Regions from separate parts of the Homo sapiens genome. Here all the other regions are linked to region 3. The links are contacts of gene promoters, found by promoter capture Hi-C in blood cells and fetal thymus (Javierre and others, 2016). All regions are on one chromosome and are shown on one strand. The core of a region is centred on a gene start or on the middle of the fragment in contact, and the rest is flanking DNA. Distances in the headings are between cores, read along the strand shown.

Region 1 (4,026 bases), core at 1,050-3,549, 240 kb before region 3:
AAGTGTAAATATAGTGAAAAATGCAAATAATGTTTTAACATTATTTTGAAAATTATATTCACCTCATAAACACCCAAAGGGTCCATAGACCACACTTCGAGAGCTACCGTTCTAATTCTATCATTTCTTCTTTTTTTTAATTAATTGTAACATTTCTGTAATGGGTCTTCAACTATTTGATTAGCCTGAGGTACAGTTCACACAGGAAAGGCAGGATAAATGTTTGATTCTTCCCCTTTGTTTAGCAGTATTCAAAACAATGAATTGATTCCTGGCCATCTTACAAAAAGGACCAAGGCCTTTTTTAGGTGTCATTATGAACTCATTGACTTAAACATATTTGATATGGCCCAATCCATGTCAATTATCTTTTTAATGATCAAATTATGCTAACTTTGGCAAGTTGGGAACTGTTCAGCTTTGCTCCTGAGTCTTTGTGAGTGTGTTTGTGTATCTTGTTTTAAACCTTTTATTTTGGAATAATTATGGATTCACATAAAGTTACAAAACTAGTATAGAGAGATCCCATGTGCTTGTCACCCACTTTTCCCCAGTGATAACACCCTGAATCCTTTTCATGTGAGTCTTAATAGTCTTTTGAATGCTTCCTTGATTTCTGGTATTACAAGATGTTCAGATTATCTTGTACATTTCCTTTCCCAGAATCAGCCATTTTTCAAAGAGCTTTCACTTATTTTTAGTGAAAGATGATACTTAGAGATATAATCTCAACAACAGGTGTGCTTATTGCTGCTGGGTCAGTTGCTGTTTCTAGGTATCTTCAGCTACTGAGCTAAGGGATGTCTATTTTTTAAAAGATAAAATACATCACATGTTTATACTAATCTAATAAAGTTCAGCACTCCGAGGTTTTTACTTAACTTCATCAATCTTACATTCCTATTTCTCCCATACGTCAAATCCCAGTTTTCATTAACGTCAACAGAATTACTCATTTGTTATCCCACGGGACTCAAACAATGGACTTAGAAAACAATTTCAGCACTACAGAAATAATATGATACTGTAGCAGTTTAAGTTTTTGTCATTCTTTTCATTTATAAGGCACATCCTTACAAATGCCCAGTAGGCATGTACAGTCAAATTATTGTGTTTTAAAGTATCTTGGAAAAGTTCCTCTCTGTGTAGTTAAGCCACCAGCTAGATACAGAGCTAGGCTTTTTTCAAGTCGCTTTCAAATTTAGGGCTTGCTTTTTAAATTTTAATTTTCTTTTATAATTATGTGAAATATTTACATGGCTCCAAAATAAACTTATAAAACAAAATATATTTAGAGAAGTCTAGTATCTATTATTCCATACAATACACATTCTTCCCCACTTTGAGTTTTTTCACTTAAAAATATAAACGAGATTATTTCATAGTAGTATAGTATTTACACATATTCCATACTGCTTAATGGTGTCTTTTGATTAGCAATTAATGAGCTCCAATTTATCAATATTATCTTTTTTTTTTTTTTTTGAGACAGATTCTCATTCTGTTGCCCAGGCTGGAGTAAAGTGGTACAATCTTGGCTCACTGCAATCTCTGCCTCCCGGGTTCAAGCGATTCTCCCACCTCAGCCTCCCGAGTAGCGGGGATTACAGGCACCCACCACCACACCCGGCTAATTTTTATACTTTTAGTAGAGACAGGGTTTCACCATGTTGGCCAGGCTGGTCTCGAACTCCTGACCTTAAGTGATCTGCCCGCCTTGGCCTCCTAAAGTGCTGGGATTAGAGGCCTAAACCACCACGCCCAGCCAAAGTTGTCTTTTTTATTTAGTATTCTTTCTATCCTTTTAAAGAAAACATATCCTGCTTCAAGTCATGAAGATATATTCCTGTGTTTTCTTCTATAACATTGCTATCCAATAGAACTTTCTGACATGCTATAAATTTTCTCTATCTGCATATATGGAATGTGTAGCTACTGAGCACTTGAAATGTGGCTAGTGAAACTGGGCTACTCAATTTTTAATGTTACTAATTTTAATTAATTTAAGCTTAAATAACCACATCTGTTTAGTGGTTGCTGTAGTTCTGGAAGCTTTCTTGTTTTAACTTGCACATTTAGATCTTAAATTACCTGAAATTGCTTTTGAATATAGTGCAATGTAGAAGTCAAGATTTATATTTTCCACTTGTAAATCCAGTTAGATTGCCTACTTTCCTCGCTGCTACTGTGCAGTGCTACCTTTGTCATAAGCAACGTGACTTTATATATTCTGTTTCTGGACTGTCTATTCTGTTTCATTGGTCAACTTGTCTATTCTTGTGCCAATACATTCTGTGTTAAATATAGTAACTTTTCATTTGTATTGATATCTAATTGTGTAAGTTCTCTCACTTTGTTATTCTGCTTCAAGATTAACTTAGCTATTTTTGGCCCTTTGCATTTCTATATAAATTGTAGATTCAGCTTCTCAGTTTCTATTTTAAAAAACCCTGCTTTGATTTTAATTGGCACTATATTGAATCTGTAGAAAATATGGGGTATATTGAAAATATCTTATTTTGATCTTTATTGAATCTATAAAAATATGAAGCTTGTTAACATTGACAATATTGAGACAGACAACCGATTAACAAGGTATATTCTTCCATTTATCTTTTTTTTTTTTTTTTGAGACGGAGTCTCGCTCTGTCGCCCAGGCTGGAGTGCAGTGGCGCAGTCTCGGCTCACTGCAAGCTCCGCCTCCCGGGTTCATGCCATTCTCCTGCCTCAGCCTCCCGAGTAGCTGGGACTACAGGCGCCCGCCACCATGCCCGGCTAATTTTTTGTATTTTTTGTAGAGACGGGGTTTCACCGTGTTAGCCAGGATGGTCTCGATCTCCTGACCTCGTGATTCACCCGCTTCGGCCTCCCAAAGTGCTGGGATTACAGGCGTGAGCCACCGCGCCCGGCTTCTTCCATTTATTTTATTATTTTATCTTAATGTTTATGTGTGTGTATGTGTATATAGGGGTATTGCACAACTTTTATTAGATAGCTGATATTTTAATGCTATTTTAAAAGTTTAATTTTATAATACAAAAATTAGCTGGACATGTTGGCACATACCCGTAATCCCAGCTACTCAGGAGGCTGAGGCAGGAGAATTGCTTGAACCTGCGAGGCAGAGGTTGCAGTGAGCTGGGATCGCGTCACTGCACTCTAGCCTGGGCAACAGAGTGATACTCCATCTAAAAAGAAAAAGAAAGGCAGGGCATGGTGGCTCACGCCTGTAATCCCAGCACTTTGGGAGGCTGAGGCAGGCGGATCACGAGGTCAGGAGATCAAGACCATCCTGGCTAACACGGTGAAACCCCGTCTCTACTAAAAATACAAAAAATTAGTCGGGCGTGGTGGCGGGCGTATGTAGTCCCAGCTACTCGGGAAGCTGAGGCAGGAGAATGGCATGAACCTGGAAGGCGGAACTTGGAGTGAGCCGAGATCGCGCCACTGCACTCCAGCCTGGGCGACAGAGTGAGACTCCGTCTCAAAAAAAAAAAAAAAAGTTTAATTTGATAATTGGCTTTTGTTGAAAGTATATAGAAATAATACTGATTTTATGTTAACTTTGTATCCAATGTTCTTGCTAAATAGTAAAATCTCATATTTTTATATTTTGGGTTTTCTACATATACTGTCATGCTATTCCCAAATAATGTTAGTTTTATTATTGTATTTTTTACTTTCTCTCTTTTTTTAAAAAAATAGAGATAGAGTCTCACTACATTGCCCAGGCTAGTCTGGAGCTCCTGGGCTCAAGCAATCCTCCCACGCCAGCCTCCCAAAGTGCTGGGATTACAGGCATAGGCCACCATGCCTGGTCTTTTAAAAACTTTCTAATCACATAGTTTTCTTGCTTTCTGTCATTGCCTATGAAATTCAGTATAAAATTGAATAGAAGTAATGTTAATGGATAATCTTGTCTTATTCCTGGTCTCAGAGAGGAAGTTTTTAAATATTTAATATGAAATACATTGTTTGATTGGGTTTATTTGCAAAAATCCTTTATCAGATTTATTAAGTTCCCTT
Region 2 (3,636 bases), core at 481-2,980, 150 kb after region 3:
CTAGGTACATTAAGGGCGAACACCTAAACTAAAAGGAAGTGTTACAAGAGGAAAAAGGGGCATGAGCAACCAATAGTATCCATAAAAGAGCTGCTTATTTTTGTAATTGTGAAAGTATATATCTATTTTTAAAGTATGGATAAGCATCGAATGTAAATTCTTTATATCAGTAGTTACATAATGCAATTATTCATAATTTTACATTTTTATCAGTATTTTCTACCTTTTATAGTGAAATTTTCTCCTTTAATATATTGAATTTACAGTGAGAATTTTTTATAATTTTTTTACAGTGGATAATTTCTTGAGTAGCCATTTTTACAGAAAATAAGTTTCAATAGTGTGTCATCTTGAAAAGGAAATGTCAAGAGGGAAAAATTTGTAAGAATTCTTAGTCGAATTTTAATGTATTTTAGGCTGGGTGCGGTGGTTCACACCTGTAATCCCAGCACTTTGGGAGGCCAAGGCGGACGGATTACCTGAGATCAGGAGTTCGAGACCATCCTGGCCAGCATGGCGAAACCCCATCTCTATTAAAAGTACAAAAATTAGTTGAGCATCGTGGTGTGTACATGTAATCCTAACTACTAGGGAGCCTAAGGCAGGAGAATTGTTTGAACCCTTGAGACGGAGGTTGCAGTGAGCCATGATCGTGCCACTGCACTCCAGCCTGGGTGACAAAGCAAGACTCTGTCTCAAAAAAAAAAAAAAAAAAAATTAAGAATTTTAATAAAACGTTAGAACTAAATTTTGTGAAATGATCATTTTGCTAATATTTTATCAAAAACAATGATTTGTACCCTTCTTAGTAAAGCAGCTGGTATTTTAAAATATGTCTCGAGAAAAAAGCCAATACAGTCTCTTTTGAGGACCTTGAAAACTAACCTGCTAGGGATATCATACTAGGCCTCTGGGTGCCGCTGTCCGCCAATCCGTGGCTGGAGGGAAACAAAGCAATCCACTGACGCAGCAGTCCCCGCAGGCTTTTGAGACACACATTAGGAGAGGACTCTGCCCGCTGTCTGTCTCACAATCTGCTCGAAATATCTTGGTCAGGAATCTCAGGATGTCTAGTGACCCCGAGTGAGGTGCTGCCTTTTATTCCTGAGCATCTTTGGAAGCAGGAAGCAGGGAGCAACGGTAGCGAGAGGTATTCGGATCTGAGTATCAGCAGGAAGAAGAAACAGAGGAAGAAGTCCCCCATAAGGAAGGCGTGAGGAGCGCAGGAAGCGCTGTTTCCCTGCCTGAGATCTTTATTCTACTAGGTCTTTATTCTACGTAGCCGATACGCTGTAAAATTCTGGAAGAGAAGGCTAGGGGTTTAAGGTTGGTAATCTCTCAGAAGATCTGCGTCTCGGTGACGGAAAGAACTAAGGGTAAGTGCTGAGAAGCCTCTCTTTACAGCCAGAGAACGAGCCAGAGCCGAGCTTGAGAATGACGGGATAGATCTAGCAGTTATGCCCAAGGAAGACCCTCGGCCCTTTGAATTTGAAGGCACTGAAAATCGTATAAATGTTTTCATATAAACGTATGCATCTTTGATATAAATAACAAAATGGCTTTTAGCACAAATTTTGTTTTGGAAATTTTGAAAAACGTCTTAATAAGAGGAATGTTTACTCTTAAGTCTGCAGTAGATTTTGAACACCGGCAGTAACTGTACAAATATATCAGATTAGTTTTAATAGCCATCTCCCCTTCCCCTACAAGTAAAGGAGAGTACTACAGCAGTATGTACTCTGAATTGCTGCTATTGAAGAACCCCTGAGCCTGTGCAGCGTGGCACTCCTGTGGTCCCCATTACTCAGGAGGCTGAGGCAGGAGGATTGCTTGATGCCAGCTAGAGGCTGCAGTGCACTATGAGAACACCTGTGAATAGCCACTGCATTCCAGCCTGAGTAACATGGCCAGACCCCATCTCTTAAGAAAAGAAAAGAAACCCTGAACCAGAGGAGCAGAGCTGCCACCACTTAGTGGTGGGGATGGGGCAGAACAGCTCAGGGCAAGACACAGGCCTTGGATGCCAATGCCAGCCGTCAGATATTGAGCAATGTGTAAGTGGGGTTAGCCTGCAGGAGAACCTGCTCGCCACCTCCTCCTCTTCATTCTTTAGGTGATCCCCATTGACCTAGACAATATCTTTAATATAGAGTTCTCCTGATTTTTCTACACAATTTTACAGGGCATACAGAATATATTTCCTGTCCAATAATGACAGAAATACTTGATTTTGAAGAGTAACAGTTATAGCTTGGAATAGAAGACTGGAGGCAGTTTGAGGGCCGACTTCAGAGTCCTGGTTGAAATGAAGGTTGAGAAGTATAATGCAGTCAGTGCAGGTGACTTTCAGCTGGGTATCTAGTCCTATCAGAGGTAAAAACTGTGGTTGCCCTAACCAAAACAATAGGACTAAGAGACCTTAAATGAAAGATGAAAGTTATTATAGAGAGAAATGATCATACTGGCAAACAATTCACCTCCAAGAATTATGATGTGACTCTTTGTCAGATACTCACAGATGGAATTCTAAACTGGTAGCAGACCCTGAAGGACAATGTCACCATCAGAACCACCAACAAGGACAAACTGTCCCTCTCCTGCATCACCCTGCATACCATCTGCATCCACAAAAATGCTCATTCTTCAACAAGCCTCCTATTTCTTTTGGGTGACTGGGAACACTGCCCAGCACCTCCATCACATGCTTTAGCGCTTCCCACCCTAACTTAGGGTCCCATATGCCTCCTGTTTCTTCTTGACCAGTGACCTGCCACTGTGGGCACTGTCATTCTACATGTCAGTGAGTGCAGAGTGCTATGGTTACCATGCAGACTATCTTTGAGCTGACTCTGCAGGCCAGTGACCAGGGTTCAACTTGCTCAGTGTCATCCTGAACCTGCATGTGATGGTGGATGACCATTGCAAAAATGCAAGGACACTATGCCAGGAGTTGCAGCCAAGTGGGGCCCTCTTTGATGCTGCACCACTCACAATGCAACCCAGCTATCCCATCACCAAAGTGGACACCAGCTGGGGCATAAAGGCTGACTGTCCTATCATGTGCTTCAGGCCAGCTAATGTGGCTCTTCAAACTAGGGATGTGCACGAGCTAGATGCGTGCCGTGTCACTGTGGGTAACAGAGATGCAACCTGCCAAGGTTTGTTGGTCACCGTGGTCAATGGTGAATCATCACGCTGAAACATCACCTGGTTGCTGCTCATAGTTTGCAGGAGTTGCTACCAGACCTCAGCAATCGCCCAGCACCCAACAGCAGGCAGCAGACAGCACCCAACAGCTGGCGATGGCCGTTGCCTTGATCTCCATGCTGTTTCTCCTCAGTGTGACTCTGGCCATCTCTCTGAACCTGCAATGCCCCCTATAGCTCCATTGCCTGGGGCTGTTTTCAGCTGGATCTCTGGTCCAAGCCCGGATATGGAGTTGTCTCCAACTTAAAGAAAGGAAATTTGCCCTGTTCCTACAACGTATGTGTGGTTTTAGATATTTTTAAAATCTTAATTTCTTTAACTCAAGAAACAGCTTTGAACCAGGTATTCTCTGCAGTGCCAGCAATGAAGCTTTGTTTTATTTTTGTTTTTGTAGAAACGGGGTTCACTATATTGACCAAGCTGGTCTCA
Region 3 (3,725 bases), core at 833-3,332:
CAATCCTCTTAACATTGTATCATCTTTTCAATCATATGAACCTATTGGAGGATGTGTTCTAGTAATGCCATAGAGTAAACTGAAAAAGGGCAAGTTATAAAATCCCAGAAATAGCAAACACATCCAGAATAAAAGGCAAAGAATTCCAAGAATGACAGCAAAGAAAAAAATCCAGAATGATAGCTGTGCAGTAGGCACAGAAAGCAACCACCCAATTTAAAGAAAAATTGAAGTCTCAGGAGGAATGGAAATGACTATGGGGAAAATTGCACTGACAGGCAATTGTATCTGTGGGATGAATAAGTGATAGGGATAAAAAAAATCAAGTAAATGAAAAGGCAAGATAATTATTAAAATCACAAAAAAATTGAAAAAGAAAACATAATTAATACACAATAATGTTCCCAATATATGGTAAGTAAAAGAAAATCTAAAATACCTAAAATGTAATCTAACATAATAAACAGTCAATTGATAATTTCTAAAATTAATTAATCAAAATATATCAGAAAACAGATTAGTGACTGAAGAGATAACTAAAAGAGTTTTAAAATGGCTACCTCTTAGAAGGGGAACTAAGAAAAGTGAGGAGGAAAAGGGCAGAACAAGCCTCTTAGTGCTATTTAATTTTGGACCAAGGTCATATATTATTTTGAAAAAAATGCATTTCAAAATATCAGTAAAGTAGAGCTCTTGCAAGTCTCACCAAGAATAAAAAGGAGTTAAAATGCTAAACATCACTAATAAAAATAGGGATACAATTAAAGGTAAATAACGCAATGAAAACAATTCCAAGAAATTTGCAAACTAGATAAAATGATTTTCAAAATAAAATGCAAGTTACTTAAAAATACAAAACCTGAACAGATTAATAACCAAAGGTAAAATGTAAATGGTAGTCACTGATCTACTGCAAGTGAAGTCACCAAACCCAACCAGTTTAAAAGACAAGCTGGAATTAAGCATGTAGAAACATATAATAATATAATTATTAAAACTATTGTATAAAATAGATAAAAAGCTCCCTAACACATTCTATGATGCCAGTATAATAGTTTAATACCAAGGCCATAAAAGGCAAACACGCACTAGGTAAACAACATTAACTAGAAAAATCCTAAAACCATGTTGACACATCATATCTATCTGTGCACTAAAACAATAATACATTATGGTTAAATGTCATTTATATCAATAACTCAGTAATTTAGAAACTAAAGAATAAATGTATTATTTCAACAGCTATCAAAAATCACTTCAAAATATGAAAGAATAAAAAGAAAACTTTATTGATTCAAAAAAGGAATATTTACCCCAAATTGAGATCAACCATCATAGTTGAAGATGAAATGCTAGAAGCACTTCCACAAATGCAAGATTGACCAACTTGCTACTACTAATTTTAAGAGTATTCATTGGACATTGGAGATTCTAGTCACTGAAATTATAGAGGAACAATAATTTCTTATGTAATACTTAAATCAGGTGAAGGATGAAGGTTGGGTTTGGGGGAGGCATAAAGTGTTCCAAGAAATATCACAGGTAAAGAGTTAAGACCTGGAAAGTGGAATAATTGTTTAATTCACAAGAAATTGGGAAAAGGGTCAATTATTCTGCCATATTCACATTATTATTGTTAAATACTTTACAAATAAATAAAATGTCCCCAACCAATATTTGTTGACTTCAAGGAGGAGGTTTCATTTTCTCATATATATTTTTACTATCCATTTTTAAAATAGGAGATTTTCTTAGGATTTCGGTGGGGAGTCAGAGTTTAGTTTCATGCTCCTAGATTTAAGAAGACTATAAATTAATTCTTCTACGAATCCAGATTATCACAGGGGAAAACGACATCAGCTATTACTTACTAGCATTACTGTGACCATTTGAGGATAAAGATGGAATGAAACAGCAAAGATACCGGGGACAAATCATTCTTGTTGCAGAATTCCTTCAATCCGCCATCTTTTTGTTCTAGTCTTGATAACGGGAATAACATCCACAAAACGCAAGGTGGCGCTGCTGGCTAAAAAGAGAGAGAGAAAAATAATTTCACAAAGAAAGGATGTTACAGATTCCAGAGCAAAGAGGCAATCTGAAGAGAAAAGCATAGGAAAGGAAACAGTGGTAATAGGAATTGGGGTAAAATGAGGATCCTTCCCCACAAACATTGCTATTATTCAGCTCATTTCAAAGGATTCCGCTGCTGCCATTTGTGAGAGCCGCTGGAGGCTGAGTGAAAGTCATTTTGAAAGACTGATCCAAAGAAGAATGGAGGCCAGAGTGGAGCGTGCTGTGCAGAAAAGGCAAGTCTTATTTCTTTGTGTATTTCTGGGAATGTCTTGGGCTGGCGCCGAACCGCTTCGGTATTTTGTGGCGGAGGAAACCGAGAGAGGCACCTTTCTTACCAACTTGGCAAAAGACCTAGGGTTAGGGGTAGGGGAACTGAGAGCCCGGGGAACTAGAATTGTTTCAGACCAGAACATGCAAATTTTACTGCTCAGTTCGCTTACTGGTGATCTACTTCTAAATGAGAAATTGGACCGAGAGGAACTGTGTGGCCCCAGAGAGCCCTGTGTGCTGCCTTTCCAGTTGTTATTGGAAAAACCTTTTCAGATTTTCCGTGCTGAACTATGGGTCAGAGACATCAATGATCACGCTCCAGTATTTCTAGACAGAGAGATTTCCTTGAAAATATTAGAAAGTACCACTCCAGGGGCGGCATTTCTCCTAGAGAGTGCACAGGATTCAGATGTTGGAACCAACAGCCTGAGTAACTACACCATCAGCCCCAATGCCTATTTCCATATTAATGTCCATGATAGCGGGGAGGGGAATATCTATCCCGAATTGGTGCTGAATCAAGTGCTGGATCGGGAAGAGATACCAGAGTTCAGTTTAACCCTCACCGCTTTAGACGGCGGCTCTCCTCCAAGATCAGGGACCGCCCTCGTGCGCATTCTGGTTCTAGACGTAAATGACAACGCCCCTGATTTTGTGCGGTCGCTCTACAAGGTGCAGGTGCCCGAAAATAGCCCCGTTGGTTCCATGGTTGTCTCCGTGTCAGCCAGAGATTTAGATACCGGAAGTAATGGGGAAATAGCCTATGCATTTTCTTACGCCACTGAAAGAATTCTCAAAACGTTTCAAATCAATCCAACATCTGGCAGTCTTCATCTTAAAGCGCAATTGGACTATGAGGCAATTCAAACTTACACATTAACTATTCAGGCCAAAGACGGCGGCGGGCTTTCTGGAAAATGCACTGTAGTGGTTGATGTAACAGATATAAACGATAATCGACCCGAGCTGCTCCTGTCTTCACTTACTAGCCCAATTGCAGAAAACTCACCCGAGACAGTCGTGGCTGTTTTTAGGATTAGAGACAGAGATTCCGGGAACAATGGAAAGACAGTGTGCTCCATCCAGGACGATGTCCCCTTCATCCTGAAGCCATCTGTCGAAAACTTCTATACTCTGGTAACAGAGAAACCTTTGGATCGAGAGAGGAACACTGAGTACAACATCACCATCACCGTCACCGACTTGGGGACACCCAGGCTGAAAACCGAGCACAACATAACCGTGCTGGTCTCCGACGTCAATGACAACGCTCCCGCCTTCACCCAAACCTCCTACACCCTGTTTGTCCGTGAGAACAACAGCCCCGCCCTGCCCATCGGCAGTGTCAGCGCCACAGACAGAGACTCGGGCACCAACGC
Region 4 (4,026 bases), core at 1,238-3,737, 140 kb before region 3:
GTTAGTCTCAGGAACAGTCAGATTTTTCAGCTAGGGATTTTTGGTAGTCCCTGGGTGGAAGTCATATCTAGTTCACTTAACACTAAGTTATATTCATCTCAGGGTCTCTCCTTTGATGAATCTCCTACTAGACTTCCTACACTAGTTGATTCAAAATCTTTTCACCTGGTCTTTGTGCTCAGGATGCGAAAACTGAAGCTCAATTACTGAACATTGGAGACGAATGGATATGAACCAACTACGGATACATGCAATAAGGTGGATGAATCTCAAAGCATTATGCTAAATGAAAAATGCTAGCTGCAAAAGGTACCTACTGTGTGACTCCATTTAAACAGGGATAGAAATCAGATCAGTTTTATCAGAAGCTGCAGGTGGGGTAAAGGATTAAATACAAAGAGGCATGAAAGAACTTTTCGGGGTAATGAAAATATTCTATATTTTTATTGTGGTGGTAGTTAAATGACTATGTATGTTCGTCAAAACTTGTCAGACTGTACCCTTAAAATAATGAGTTTTATTGCATGGAAATTGTATCTTCATATACTCAAATGTAAATGAAACCAGCTGAATACACACACACATGTACATGTGCACATACCAGAAATTCAAATGTATCCAGTCCTATAAATATCCCAGCTGGTATCAGTGATCTGATGATCTCTCCAGTTCCCAGAAAGCAGAAATTTTTGTCAATCATTCACTGCTGTATCCCCAATACCTAGAACAATCCTAAAATGTCATAGGTCCTTTATAAATATTTATTGACTAAACAAATGGATTTCTAAGCAGTGGCCCTCAAACTTTTAAAGATCAAAAGCACTTTGAGGCCAGGTGTGGTAGTTCATACCTATAATCCCAACACTTTGGGAGGCCAAGACAGGAGGATCACTTGAGGCCAGAAGTTCAAGACCAGCCTGGGCAACACAGTGAGACCCTGTCTCTACCAAAAACAAACAAACAAACAAAAAATTAGCCAGGTCTGATGGCAGGCACTTGTAGTCATAGCTACTTTGGAGGCTGAGGCAGGAGGTTCGCTTGAGCCCAGGAGTTCTAGGCTGCTGAGCCATGATCATGCCATTGCACTTCAACCTGGGCAACAGAGTGAGACCCTGTCTCAAAAAAAAAAAAAAAAAAGAAAAGAAAAGAAAAAGAAAAAATGAGGAACAAAGATATTATCATAATGAGAAAAGCACTAGACTTGAGTCAGAATCTGATTTCCAGGACTTTTTTTTTTTTTGCTAACTTGAGGTGTAATATTGGACATTCTACTTTTCTGGCCTTCAGTTTCCTTATATGTAAAATTAAAACTATACCGGGTCTCTCTTTTGCACAGAAAAAAAATTATAATTTAAACTCTGCATAACACCTAATTATGTGTTTTCATTTACCTCTTCCACACCCAGATTTCCAGGAATAATAAGAGAATGAATCATCAGTTAGGTGTTATCTTGAGTTTATTAAATCTTAGAAAAATTGAATTTCTTTCAGTTATACTCAGAGCATATTAGAAATAAAGCATCACTTATTAAATATTTCTTGATAAATTATTATATTCATCATGATTCATATTATGGAATTGGAATAAGAGGAAATGCTTAATCTGTACAGAAACCCCTTAGAGCCTCATGAGAGTGAATTAATGAAAAATTGGAGTGGTTAGGCAATCTTGGAAGAGTTAGAGAATAATACTTTTAAAATGTTCGAAAATTATCTGAAAAGAATTTCAAAAATATTACTAAAATTGATTATCACCTTATGATAGTGCTTATCTGTATTAGCTAATATTTCTCTAATTATTATATATTATATAATATTTTTGTAATTTATATATTGTATATTTTTATAATTTATATATTAGGTAATATATTTTTATAATTTATATATTATATATTTTTATAGTTTATATATTATATAATAGAGAAATATTAGCTAATACAGATAAGCACTATCATAATATTTATTAGCTAATGAATACTGATTACTACACAAAAATAAATAGCCTTTACAAGCAAAAAATAAAATCTGACAATGAATAATCAATTTTTAAGGTGGTTTGAAGGTCACTAAGAAGTATTAAAGCAAGTCACCCTAAAGGAGAGAAAAATAATGATAAATTTTATTCCCTTTTCCACAGTGTTCTTCAAATGCACTATCCTTTCATTGCTTCTAAATCTTTGTACAAGCTTTTTGCAATTGTTTTCCTTCCTCTTTGCTTAGATAACTCTTCATCTTTCAGAGCCCAGCCTTTCCCAGCCTCCCATTTCCCATCTGTAGTTTTGAGTTCTTCTATTACCCTGTATTCTTATGCTGGCGGTCTGTAACATATTTGCTGTAACAATTTTTTTGTCTGTCTTACCCATTAGGATCTAAGTTTTGTGAGGCTAGGATGGGATCCATCTCATTCGACATTACATTTTCTGACTCCAGGAGAGGCCAAACATAGGAGATGCCTAATAATATTTAGTAACTGAATGACTAGAGTGGTGATTGAGTGTTAGGTAAAAAACAATCTTTAGAAGAGAAGTCCCTTGATTGAACAATGCTGTGGAAAAGAGCTGGCTCAGGTGACAGCATTCTAAAGCTCCTTTACTGGGCCCATCAGATGGAACTGAGCTTTGTAGAGTGGACAATTTGCAAGATTAGGAGACCTAGTAATTACAACAATTATTGGAAACAGCCTCATCATGGTACAAACACAAGTAATAAAAGAACTCTTTTGCAAACATCAGTGCATCATATGGAGTCCTCAGTAAAATAGGAAGTTTAACAAAGAGCTCTTCACAAAGGAAGCTTATTTTTCTATTTTGAGGCCCAGAGTAGGTATTTGTAATATCTCAGAAGAAGGGAAGAATTTAAAACTATTATTTTCATTGTTACAAATCATAGAATTAAATAGTATCTTCAGAGCTATGAAGAAATTATGACTCAATATTCCCTTTAGGCAGCCATCATTACAGTAAAACAATCTATATACTTTGATCTACTAATACTAAGAAATAGTGAATTTAGAAGTTAATTAATTATATGCATATAGACCATCAATCTTAGCAATTCATATGACCTCTACTTCAAGTAGCATTATTTACAATGAACTCAAGCTCTGTAATATTTTCATAATGGATTATCATATTAGATCAGGTTTTTATTTTACTACTTCATTGAATCTGCTCTGCCAAGGTCACAAGAGGTTTCCATCTTTCTATCTCAAGCCTCATTTTACTAAACTAAAGCAGTATTTCCTTTCTCCTTCAAACAGTTTCTCCACATGGTTCTCAGGGGACATTCTTTCCTGGATTTCCTCCTACCACACTGGTCATTCCCTCCTTCAGTCTCCTTTGCTGGCTTCTTTCCATTTTCTAGACCTCTAAAGCTGATGTGTGCTAGGATTCACCATCTTCTCTATCTACGTGAATTTTCCAGGTGACCTCATTTCATTGCTTTATAGTTTTCCTAATCTTTACTTTAAAATTCATATTTGTAGATATAGTATCTCCTCTAAGTCCCCAGATCCAAATATTCATTTGCCCACTTGATATGACTTAGATGTTTAACAAGCATTTTAAATTTAGCATGTCCAAAATAAAATTGTTGATTTTTCCATTCCAAAACTAACCCTAACTTTCCTCATGTTAGTAATGACACCACCAATCACTAAGATATTCAAAACAGAGAGCATTCTTTTTTTATTATTTCATTTTCCATTAAATCCATCATGAAATCATGCCAATTAAAAAAAAAAGTTCCAGACCCAACCAATTTTTTAAACTTCTTCAGCACCCCTACCCTTGTACAAACTACCATTATCTTTGGCCTGCATTATTGCCATGAGCTTCTAATGAATTTCCCTTCTTCTACCCATACAACAGCCAGACTTATCTTTTTATAATGTAAATCAAATCTCCATTAAAAACCCTTAATTGGTTTCTCATCATCCCCCTTCTCCTTTATAACATTTGCCACTATTTCATATAATATTGTGTATCTATTTTTGGGCTCCCTAAAGGCAGGGGTTCCCTAATAATG
Region 5 (3,940 bases), core at 1,065-3,564, 130 kb after region 3:
AACTCAAGCAATCCACCCACTGGCCTCCCAAAGTGTTGGGGCTTACAAGCATGAACCACCACACCCGGCCTATCCCACGCTTCTTACCATGCAAAAAACAAAAACAAACAACCCGAAAAGAAGATGCCCTCACTTGAATAGACCCTGAATTCAGAGGGTCAATCTACAAGAAAACTGCTTTAAAGTAGATAAGACAGGCCAGGTGTGGTGGCTCATGCCTGTAATCCCAACACTTGGAGAGGCTGCGGAGGGAGGCTCATTTGAGCCTAGGAGTTCAAGGCTAGCTTGGGCAGCAAAATGAGACACCCCTTACCCCCTACAAAAAATAAAGTAGAGAAGACAAACTGTCAGAGGCGCTGGAACCACAGCAACTCCATCTTGACTAGGGACTGAGTAAAATAAGGCCGAGACCTACTGGACTGCATTCCCAGGAAGACAGGCATTCTAAGTCACAGGATGAGATAGGAGGCCGGCACAAGATACGGGTCACAAAGACCTTGCTGATAAAACAGGTTTCAGTAAAGAAGCCAGCCAAATCCCACCAGAATCAAGATGGCATAATAAGTGACCTCTGGTCGTCCTTACTGCTCATTATACGCCAATTATAATGCATTAGCATGCTAAAAGACACGCCCACCAGCGCCGTGTCCACTTACAGATGCCATGGCAACAATAAGAAGTGACCCTATGTGGTCTAAAAAGGGGGAGGAATCCTCAGTTCCGGTAACTTTGGACCCCTTTCCCAGAAACCTCATGAATAATCCACCCCTTGTTTAGCTTACATTCAATAAAAAACTGTAAGTATCCTTAGTCAAGCCGCCCAGGCCACTGCTGTGCCTATGGAGTAGCCATTCTTTTGCTTCTTTACTTCTCTAATAAACTTGCTTTCACTTGACTCTATGAACTTGCCCCAAATTATTTCTTGCATGAGATCCAAGAACAATCTCTTGGGTCTGGATCGGGACCCCTGTCCGGTAACGAAACGATCTGAGGGTTGCTACATGAGAGACAGTGACTGCTTTTGATCAGAAAACCCTCAGCGATCTGCCCACGCTCCTCACTTTCCTGGGGGGCAAGGAGGGGAGTAGGGCACTGTGGGAATCCTTAGCCCTGGAGATGTGCTACTGCTTTCCTGCAGAGCTGGAGAAATGCTATCACATGGCAACATCCCCAAGGATCTGGGGTTGCAGCCCTGGGAACTGGTGGAACGTGGAGTCCTTATCATTTCTGAAGATAGAACACGGCACTATAAAATCAACTTGGAAAATGGATAGTATTTATATACTGCATTGCTAAGAAACTTGATAGAAAAGAGCTGGGTGGCTCAGCACTATGCTTTCTAAGTTTTGAGATTCTCTTTGAGGACCCACACAGCCTCATGCAGAAGTAGAAATTTGTCGTTTGTACACTGTTGGTGGGAATGTAAAATAGTTCAACCCCTATGGAAAGCAGTATGGAGATTTCTCAAAGAACTAAAAATAGAACACCCATTCAACCCAGCAATCCCACTATTAGGTATCTACCCAAAGGAAAAGAAATCATTTTATCAAAAAGACACCTGTGCTGGGGACAGTGACTTACACCTGTAATCCCAGAATTTTGGGAGCCCAAGCCAGGTAGATCGCTTGAGCCCAGGAGCTCCAGACCAGCCTGGACAACATGGCAAAATGCCATCTCTACAAAAAAATACAAAAAGTAGCCATGCATGATGGCATGCCCCTGTAGTGGCAGCTACACAGGAGGCGGAGATGGGAGGATTGACTGAGCTGAGTTGGAGGCTGCAGTGAGTTATGATCCAGCCTGGGTGGCAAAACAAGACCCTGTCTCCAAAAAAAAAACCAGAAAACATCTACACTCATATGTTTATGGAAGCACTATTCACAACAGGAAAGTCACAGAATCAATGTAAGTGTTCATCAATAGTTGATTGGATAAAGAAAATGTGGTATATGTATACCACGGAATACTATGCAGCCATAAAAAAGAATGAAATTATGTCCCTCACAACATGGATGGAGCTGGGGGCTGTTATTCTAGGTGAAATATCTTAGAACCAGAAAATCAAATACTGCATGTTCTCACTTATATAAGTGGGAGCTAAACAATGGGTACACAAAGACATAAAGATGGGAATAACAGACACTGGGGAATCCAAAAGTGGGGAGGGTGGGAGGGATTGAGGGTTGAAAACCTACCTGTTGGGTACTACATTCACTATGTGGGTGACGGGTTCACTAGAAGCCCAAACCTCAGCGTTACACAACATACCCATGTAACACACCTGCACATGTACTCCTTGAATCTAAAATGAAATTCAATTTAAAAAGAAGTAGAAGTTCGGGATACAAATGACATGTCTAGCTTTCAAAGCAAGATGTTTTTTGGACATTAGTGAGGATACCACTGTCAGGACACACTTCTTCCTCCCAGATATTTATAATCCCAGCATTGGAATGAATTCTCTCCAGGCTTACATTCCAAGCCGTCGTCGGCCATGGGTAGTAAAAACAAAATCTGGGGGGAAGAAAGTATGCTGAAAGCATTCTCTTTCATTTAGAAAACTTTCCTTGTCTAATTATCCTTGGCTGTCAATTAAAAGTGAGGTACTTCAGAACAAAGGTCTCTGAGAAAATTTAAAAAAAAATTTTTTAATGAGGTACTAAAAAGCAAATTGTGCATGGATAATTTGTCACCAGGTAGTCTTCACTGTAGTAAATAGTAATCTGGGCTTTTCTTTGGGAAATGCCCAAATGTCAGCAGTTGCAGTTCTTTTCTCTGGTACCACATAGTTTCCTCAGAGAATGCTCTATGAGCTTTGACTGTGTGTGTGCAGGGTGTGGTGGGGGAGAGGTAGGTTATAAACCTAGATACTGATTTAAAGAGAACAAGAGAGGGGAAGAGGGATGACACACCTGGAGTAAATATACAGACTTTCACATAATTTTTTCCTTATTTGACACTGTGCCTACTTTCTCTGAGTTTGGGCCTTCTTTGGTTCAATTTATCCAGAAAATAAAATTTCCATCTTCTGTGGGATGGAAAGAGTTATCTGGCTTCATAGAGTGGGATAGAGATCCTGGACACCCAACAACTCTGAACACAGACTTTAATGAATCTCACATCTCTAACCCTACACCTTCCCACCTTCCCTGGAATCTTCTGCTTGCAAAAATTTTGCATCTTACAAGGCTCTGTCAAGTGGGTTTGTCTCTCTTTGGTATAACTACTTGCAGACATTTAGCATGTAACTTTTTCTGATCTATGAATTCATTTATCATTTCTCTGTTTTGGCCTTCAGATAATGGGTTGACATCTCTCATCCACTGTTGTCTCATTTCCTATTCTCTTTGTCCTTAGAAGTTAACATCTTTTAAAAATCCTTTCTGTTGTTTTATTTAGCAGCCTCTTAGGTAAAGCAGAAAGGATGAGAACAATCTGCAATTTGAAAATAGAAAACTTCATTAGGATTTTTAAATCCTTCATGTCATATTTGAGGAATTTTTTTCTATGTTTTGATTTCACTTTCAGGAAAGGGAACGGGGGAAAAGGGTTTTGTTTTGGTTTGTCTTGCTCTGCTGCCCAGGCCAGAATGCAGTGGCACAATCATGGCTCACTGTAACCTCAACCTCTCAGGCTGAAGCAATCCTTCCACTTTAGCCTCCCATGTAGCTGGGCCAGAGGTGTGCACCATCACACCCAGCTAATTTTTAAATTTTTTGTAGAGACAGAATCTCACTATGTTGCCCAGGCTGGTCTCAAATTCCTGGGCTTAAGTGATCCTCCCATCTCAGCCTCCCAAAGTGCTGGGATTACAGGAATAAGGCACTGTGCTCAGCCCAGAAATTATTTAAATAATAACATATTATGTAGATTTTGCAAGGTCACCTAATATAAATTAGAAATTTGCCTTCGAAGCATCCTGTAGTCTAAAAATAAACAC
Region 6 (3,689 bases), core at 1,104-3,603, 210 kb before region 3:
TACCTGCAGTTTCACTCTGAGCAGTTTCAGAAAATAGGTGAGCACAGTACAGTAAGATATTTTGAGAGAGAGACCACATTCATAAAACTTTTATTATAGTGTATTGTTATAATTGTCCTAATTTATTATTATTGTTGTTAATCTTTTACTGTGCCTAATTTATAAATCACACTTTATCATAGGTATGTATGTATAGGAAAAAACATAGTATATGTAGAATTCAGTATTATCCTTGGTTTCAGACATTCAGTGGGGATCTTAGAAAGTATTCTCTGTGGAAAAGGAGGGACTACTGTACTTTTAACAAAGCACTTCCCAGAATAAACACACAGACATATACATGCACACACTTTCAGAAATGCACTTAAATATTCAATCATGGAGTAAAAATTAATTATGAAATATCTAGACAATGAACATTATGTAGTTTTTATTAAGAAAGAAGCAGAATTATATATACTGACATGAAAGGATGTTCATTATATATGTTAAGTAAAAACTAAGTTCATCATATATGTTAAGTAAAAAAAAGTCACAAATTAAGAGAAAGTGTTAATTGATTTGAGAGTTTGTGTATTTTTTTTCCTATTTTGTGCTGAAAAGCTGAAGTTGGCATCAACCAAGGCATATTGTTATCTATGTATCAAGCTAAATAATTTAAAGATCTTTAAGACTATTAATTCAGAGATGCTGTATAAATAGAATCAGTGCCAGATTTTTTGTTTCAATTCTATCAGCCAAGTATACTATGCTTTCTTTGCTTGTGATAGAAAAAAGAGAGAAAAAACACAGAAGCAAAAAGTAAAGTTGTACAATAGTGTGTAGAGTGTGGTTCCATTTTGTAAAATGTATCAGTGTGTATATTTATATAGCATAGTCAAAAGCCTGGAGTGATATAAATTTTCTGTTACTGGTCTAGTATACAAGGGAATTAGATTTTAAAGGACTTTCATTGTTTTTAACAATTCTGAACAAATTTAATTTGGTACAAGAAGTATATATTTTAAATATTATTGAACTTAATTAAAATAAATTAGAGCTCAAAAAATAAATAAATCACAGGAAGTTCACAGTCTGACTTTATCAGGAATGTTGCTATTTTCTTAACAGGTCATCAAACATTATCACTGATGCTTGGAAAGAAGCACTTTTTATAATTTAAAAATACCTTTTATTCTTCAACTTCTGCTGGCTTAAAGAGCACTAAGTCCACATATCCTAGGAGGCATGGCTGTCCAATATATACTATGTGTACATTGATTTATGAACCAATAAATGTTTCATACACAGTTGAGATTTTAAATGAGCTTATGATAATTGGATCAAAGGAATACTAGTCCAGCTTGAGAGTACTGCAGAAAACCAATCACAGAAAGCTATGATGAAATTTTAATTATAAAGGATATTGAATATCCTAGAGTGACAACTCTGTTATAATAAATGTAACACTGAATGGGAAAGAGAGAAAGGAGATTTTTACCCATTTCTGTTTGAAATCAACTTTCTATTTCTAGTAAATTATCACACCATTCTGTTTTAATTTTTATATCTTAAAGTTATCATTCCAGTGTCTTTGGTTTACTGGGTTTATAAAAGAATTGACCAGTAGCTATATAATAGATACAGAAAAGTCTGCCTGGGTGTGGTGGCTCATACTTGTAATAATATTATATTATTATAATTGTTCTATTTTATTATTAGTTATTGTTGCTAATCTTTTACTGTACCTAATTTATACATTAAGCTTTATCATGGGTATGTATGTATAGGAAAAAATGCAGTATATATAGAATTCAGTATTATCCTTGGTTTCGGACATTCAGCAGGGGTCCGAAGGTGGGCGAGGTGAGCCCACTTTGGGAGGCCAAAGTGGGCAGATTGCTTGACCCCAGGAGTTCAGGACCAGTCTGGGCAACATGGTGAAATGCTGTCCTTACAAAAAATACAAAAATTATCTGGGCATGATAGTGCATGACTGTAGTCCCAGCTACCCAGGAGCCTGAGGTGGGAGCATCACTGAGCCCGGTGGTTGAAGCTGCAATAAGTTTTGATTATGCTACTGCACTCCAGCGGGACAACTGAGTGAGACCCTGTCTCAAAAAAAAAAGTCACAAATTAAGATAAAGTGTTGATTGATCTGAGAATTTGTGTATTTTTTTCTATTTTGTGCTGAAAAGCTGAAGTTGGCATCAATCAAGGCATATTGTTATATATGGATCAAACTAAAAAATTTTAAGATCTTTAAGACCATTAATTCAGAGATGCTGTATAAATAGAATCAGTACTAGATTTTTTGTTTCAATTCTATCAGCCAAGTATAACATGCTTTTCTTGCTTGTGATAGAAAAAAAGAGAGAAAAAACACAGAAGCAAAATTGAAGAATTTGTAAATCATTTCTAAATAATTTCAATAAAATGAGCTTTGAAAGGGAAAATTTTTAGATAACATTATCTCATCAAAATGCCTTAAAGTATATTTTAATATTCAGTAAGAACAGTGTATATTAACATGGCTAATTTAGAGGATTTATATTTTACCCACATGATAATGTATTATGCCTGTAACTGCTAAAGGAATTATGTAGCAAAATCTGTCAAGGAATACACGAGTGGGATTTATATCAGAAAAATCAAAGCCATTTGTAAAGCCCCATTACTTAGGCAGAATATCATAGGTAGGAGGTAGATGTTACTGAAAGAAGAAGTTGGGATATGAAATACAAATCTATTTTGCATCATGATTTTGTTAAGTCCGGCTGTTTATTATTAAAAACATGTACAGAAGATTCAATTGAAGTTTCTAAAAGAGAAAGAAACTTGTAGTTGTGGGAACAATAGTATTCCTTATGAAATACTTAGATATTAATAGCTTGAGACTGATAATACAATTCTTAAGTTAGGGGTTGCATGTGTAGTGGTCAGATGTTATTTCAGGATCTCAAGAAACAGAGCCATGGTAAAAAGAAGCTTCCTGGAGCTTCTGATAAATTCCGTCACCTTTTTGGGACCCAGTTTCTTCATCAATACCAACCTCATTAGGGTCCTGTGAGAAGTACATGAGGTGAGATATGTACTGAAATAATATGCCAACTCTTAAGTGCCAAGACATTAGGATGCAAGGGGGGGTGCCCAAAAAGTCAACAATTACTTGATACTCTAGATATATGTATGGATAATTTTGAGAAGTAATCCTTCTTACACAGAGGTGTAGGTTTGTTTGTTCCAAGCAGCAAACATAATGGGTATAGGAAAGAGAAACTGTGGCCTTCATATAGACTGAGCTTAGGAAAACAGTTGGAAAACAGTTCAAATTCAAGGTACTTCAACAATATCTAGTGTGTTTTTGAAATATATTTTTAAAACCCCTATCCAAATCAATGAATGCTTTGGCTAAAACCTACTTGGGAATGAGGGTGTTCTTTAGTGCCAAATACTCATCTTATTTTAGTCCATGATTTTAGTCCATGGCTAAAATCCCAAGAGTTACAGAGGAGAAATAGGGCCAAACAAGGTTTCTATTAAAATAAGAGGTCCCAAGTGATGAATGGAAACTTGGAACAGGTTTAATGGCAACTATAAGCCAGAAATTAGCTGAAATACACACTAATGAATTTGGGGCATATCTTGAGTTTCAGATAGAAAATTGGTACTAAGTTTAGTGAATTAGAAACATAGCTTAACCTAGGCAG
Region 7 (3,518 bases), core at 388-2,887, 230 kb after region 3:
ACAGTAGCCATAGCTGACAGCATCCCAGACATCCTGGCTGACCTGGGCAGTCTTCAGATCCCTGCAGACCTGGAGGCCTCAGACCTTACCCTCTACCTCGTTGTGGCTGTGGCAGTCGTCTCCTGTGTCTTCCTCACCTTCGTTATCACGCTGCTGGCCCTCAGGCTGAGGCACTGGCACTCCTCGCATCTGCTGCGGGCTACCAGTGATGGGTTGGCTGGTGTGCCCACCTCACACTTTGTGGGTGTAGATGGGGTTCGAGCTTTCCTACAGACCTATTCTCAGGAGTTCTCCCTCACCGCTGACTCAAGGAAGAGTCACCTGATCTTCCCCCAGCCCAACTATGCAGACACACTCATCAGCCAGCAGAGCTGTGAGAAAAATGAGCCTTTGTGCGTCTCTGTTGATTCCAAGTTTCCTATAGAAGACACCCCTTTGGTTCCGGTGAGTTCATTTTTTTTCTTTCTTTCTTTTCTTTTTTTGTTTTTTGTTTTGTTTTGTTTTTGAGACAGAGTCTTACTCTGTTACCCAGGCTGGAATGCAGTGGTGTGATCTCGGCTCATTGCAACCTCCGCCTCCCAAATTCAAGCGATTCTCCTGCCTCAGCCTCCCAAGTAGAGTAGCTGGGACTAGAGTAGAGTAGCTGGGACTACAGGCCTCCCAAGTAGAATAACTGGGACTACAGGCACGTGCCACCACGCCCGGCTAATTTTTTGTGTGTTTTTAGTAGAGACGGGGTGTCACCATGTTGGCCAGGCTGGTCTTGAATTCCTAACCTCAAGTGATCCACCCACCTCAGCCTCCCAAAGCACTGGGATTACAGGCGTGAGCCACTGCGCCTGGCCCTTAACTTTCTATTATAGTTAGCTTTCTCTTTAACTGTCTGTACTTAAGGTAGTATAAGTTGATATCAGTGTGTTTCTCATCACTTTTCACTGGGCCTAATTGTTGCTCCAACACTGAAAGGAGGCATTTATTAGTTATATTTGCTGATATAACTTTCATGTTCTCATAATAATTAACCTGCTGTCAACGTAAACCATACTTCATGGGGTAGCTCTCAGCCTGCATTGATGTGGGCTTTTTGGGTAGGGTTGCTTCATTGGTTGCAGTGGACTCATATCATAAAATTCTTACTCCTTTTTTTTTTTTTTTAAGAGATGGGGGTGTCATTCTGTTGTCCAGGGTGGAATGCAGTGGTGTGGGTAAAGCTTACTGCAGTCTCAATCTCCTGGGCTTATGCAATCCTCCCACCTCAGCCTTCACAGTAGCTAGGACTGAGGTGGGAGGGCTAGCAAGCTATGTTGCCCAGACTGGTCTCAAACGATCTTCCTGCTTCAGTTTCCCAAAGCACTGGGTGAGGTGTGAACCACCTCACCCAGCAAATTCTTACTCCTACGATCATTTATTCAGGTCATACTATGTTTGTAAGGGTAAACTGATAAAAAGGTAAATGTATTCTTCTTAGAGAAACAGCTGAAAGCCCAGATTTATTGCTTCTATTCTTCCATTTCTATGACAGGAAAACACCTCTTTGAGGTTATATTTTTCAGATCACAAGTGTGTAAAGTCTGTTTGTGTTTACAGATATTTTCTGACGAAGATTCAAACTTCAGTTATCCACTTCCAAACCCTAGTAAACCAATTTTTTCCCTTTAATGGTGAAAGTTGTCACATCTTTTATTCTCATATCTTCAAAGGTCTTAATTTCCTAATGCTTTAATGTTAAATTATGGAGAATAGTAGGACATTCTTCTTTTCTATAGTATATGCTTGCTCAAGAGAAGTTTCTAAGACTGGACACTGTGAAATGACAAAACAAGGAATTAAAAATATTTCTCTCACTTATATATTATTTCTGGCTCAATTCTCCAACTTTTGAGTCTAGAAATGAACTTGCATATCAGATATAATTTAAGAAAATATTCTCAGGAACTGCTGGGAAGATTCTAAAACTATTTTACTGTTTTTAGCTATAAGGAAGAGAATAATGTATTATTTAATGTTATTTTAAACATAGTGTTGTTTCAAATAGTAAATAACATTTCACAAGACATTTGAAAATAAGCTTTGAAGTTGACTCAAAATTCTATGCTAAACATGTGATCCATAGATACACTGATGACTGCTGGCATTTCTGTGGAAATGAAGAATTGTTTTATTTGTTTGTAATTATTTGGGTTTCAGTTGCTTTATTTTTAAGAAAAAAAAGCTGAAGTGTCTGGGAATCCTTTATGACATACAGACATTTTAATTATTTCAAACACGTTTTCCCCCTTAAGTGGGTAGCAAAAAAAATAAAGCATACTTCAGGCTCATATTTTTAACCATGCAACAAGAAAATTGTTACAATTTCTGTTCTGAGGAGTAGCCTTCATACTTAGTATTTATAAATATTGAAATGTATGTTAATTTGGGGAAAACATAACAGATATCCATGAAGGCTTGTATGTCATGGTAGGTAGTTACTATTCGATACCACAAAAATGTCTCTTGCCCTTAAAACCAGAACACGAGGCTCACCAGACAGATGACTGAATGGAGTATGGAAAATCTTTATTTCTGTTTTTCTTAGGCTATGTAGGACTTAACTTATTGTGCATTGGTAACAGATTGTAGAACATAAGCTGAAAGATAAAATTCTTGACCTTAATGTCTCATCTTAAAAAGAAGCATTGGTTGACATTCTATATCTCGTATTACTTAAAAATAATGGGGGAGCGCAGTATATATTAAACAAAGATTGGCTTTGTGGTGATCATTGTTGAAGGTGGGGTGATGGCTATGTGAAGGTTCACTATATATACTCCCTACTGTTGTATAAGTTTGAAATTGTGCATAATAGATTTATTTAAAACACAAAGCATAGAAATATCTACTATAATATTATGGTGAGAGCAAAATTTGAGGGGGATGTACACCTGCATTTTCGAAGAATATATACATTTCGGAGACCGAATTCAAAATGAAAAACCGGGCTGCTGTCCCGCACGGAGCCTCTGGGCGCCGCTGTCGGCCAGTGCAGAGCAAGCGCTGACGCCGGGGATCCGTCAGCCTCTGGCCTGGGATTCCCTGCGCAGCCAACAACAGAAAGAAGAAAACCAGCTCCCACACAGAGCCTCCCGGCTGCGCAGACCTTTCCCAGCACAGCGGATTGCCAGCTCCGAGACCCGGGACTCCTCCTGTCCTGGGCCGAATGCTCTTTTAGCGCGGTAGAGTGCACTTTCTCCAACTGGAAAAGCGGGGACCCAGCGAGAACCCGAGCGAACGATGGGAGGGAGCTGCGCGCAGAGGCGCCGGGCCGGCCCGCGGCAGGTGCTATTTCCTTTGCTGCTGCCTTTGTTCTACCCCACCCTGAGTGAGCCGATCCGCTACTCGATTCCGGAGGAGCTGGCCAAGGGCTCGGTGGTGGGGAACCTCGCTAAGGATCTAGGGCTCAGTGTCCTGGATGTGTCGGCTCGCAAGCTGCGAGTGAGCGCGGAGAAGCTGCACTTCAGCGTAGACGCGGAGAGCGGGGA

What was found. Contacts are between HindIII fragments. The CHiCAGO score rates a contact against its expected background, and 5 or more counts as called.
Region 1: a contact is called between a fragment that was not itself captured here and the fragment with the promoter of PCDHB7 in region 3, in 5 of 17 cell types (M1 macrophages, M2 macrophages, M0 macrophages and 2 more). The highest score is 10.9, in M1 macrophages.
Region 2: a fragment that was not itself captured here is called in contact with the fragment with the promoter of PCDHB7 in region 3 in 2 of 17 cell types (M1 macrophages and endothelial precursors); the score reaches 6.7 in M1 macrophages.
Region 4: a contact is called between a fragment that was not itself captured here and the fragment with the promoter of PCDHB7 in region 3, in 4 of 17 cell types (monocytes, M0 macrophages, M1 macrophages and 1 more). The highest score is 6.0, in monocytes.
Region 5: a contact is called between a fragment that was not itself captured here and the fragment with the promoter of PCDHB7 in region 3, in 2 of 17 cell types (M2 macrophages and M1 macrophages). The highest score is 5.8, in M2 macrophages.
Region 6: a contact is called between a fragment that was not itself captured here and the fragment with the promoter of PCDHB7 in region 3, in 4 of 17 cell types (M1 macrophages, M0 macrophages, M2 macrophages and 1 more). The highest score is 9.2, in M1 macrophages.
Region 7: a fragment that was not itself captured here is called in contact with the fragment with the promoter of PCDHB7 in region 3 in 4 of 17 cell types (M1 macrophages, erythroblasts, fetal thymus and 1 more); the score reaches 6.9 in M1 macrophages.

The regions. Positions count from the first base shown.
Region 1 is chr5:140,934,426-140,938,451 of GRCh38, forward strand. All of the region lies in intron 1 of PCDHA1 (protocadherin alpha 1), which reads left to right. The region is part of intron 1 of PCDHA2 (protocadherin alpha 2); the gene reads left to right. The region is part of intron 1 of PCDHA3 (protocadherin alpha 3); the gene reads left to right. All of the region lies in intron 1 of PCDHA4 (protocadherin alpha 4), which reads left to right. It also overlaps PCDHA5, PCDHA6, PCDHA7, PCDHA8, PCDHA9 and PCDHA10, and 5 more genes. Among named protein-coding and RNA genes, the nearest start is that of PCDHAC1, 10 kb to the left of the region's middle. The HindIII fragment of the contact is 499 bases long and covers 2,051-2,549 here.
Region 2 is chr5:141,325,262-141,328,897 of GRCh38, forward strand. No RefSeq gene overlaps it. Among named protein-coding and RNA genes, the nearest start is that of PCDHGA1, 3.4 kb to the right of the region's middle. RefSeq lists an enhancer at 1,067-1,186. The HindIII fragment of the contact is 3,687 bases long and covers 1-3,574 here.
Region 3 is chr5:141,170,562-141,174,286 of GRCh38, forward strand. It overlaps PCDHB7 (protocadherin beta 7), which reads left to right and starts at 2,083. Exons shown (of 1, transcript NM_018940.4): 1 at 2,083-3,725. The coding sequence starts at 2,275. It also overlaps PCDHB@. The HindIII fragment of the contact is 10,030 bases long and covers 1-3,725 here.
Region 4 is chr5:141,032,841-141,036,866 of GRCh38, forward strand. No RefSeq gene overlaps it. Among named protein-coding and RNA genes, the nearest start is that of PCDHB1, 17 kb to the right of the region's middle. The HindIII fragment of the contact is 607 bases long and covers 2,185-2,791 here.
Region 5 is chr5:141,304,881-141,308,820 of GRCh38, forward strand. No RefSeq gene overlaps it. Among named protein-coding and RNA genes, the nearest start is that of SLC25A2, 2.8 kb to the left of the region's middle. The HindIII fragment of the contact is 5,316 bases long and covers 1-3,940 here.
Region 6 is chr5:140,957,277-140,960,965 of GRCh38, forward strand. The region is part of intron 1 of PCDHA1 (protocadherin alpha 1); the gene reads left to right. The region is part of intron 1 of PCDHA2 (protocadherin alpha 2); the gene reads left to right. All of the region lies in intron 1 of PCDHA3 (protocadherin alpha 3), which reads left to right. The region is part of intron 1 of PCDHA4 (protocadherin alpha 4); the gene reads left to right. It also overlaps PCDHA5, PCDHA6, PCDHA7, PCDHA8, PCDHA9 and PCDHA10, and 5 more genes. Among named protein-coding and RNA genes, the nearest start is that of PCDHAC2, 7.4 kb to the right of the region's middle. The HindIII fragment of the contact is 1,223 bases long and covers 1,743-2,965 here.
Region 7 is chr5:141,404,933-141,408,450 of GRCh38, forward strand. The region is part of intron 1 of PCDHGA1 (protocadherin gamma subfamily A, 1); the gene reads left to right. All of the region lies in intron 1 of PCDHGA2 (protocadherin gamma subfamily A, 2), which reads left to right. The region is part of intron 1 of PCDHGA3 (protocadherin gamma subfamily A, 3); the gene reads left to right. The region is part of intron 1 of PCDHGB1 (protocadherin gamma subfamily B, 1); the gene reads left to right. It also overlaps PCDHGA4, PCDHGB2, PCDHGA5, PCDHGB3, PCDHGA6 and PCDHGA7, and 6 more genes. RefSeq lists an enhancer at 3,498-3,518. The HindIII fragment of the contact is 857 bases long and covers 1,210-2,066 here.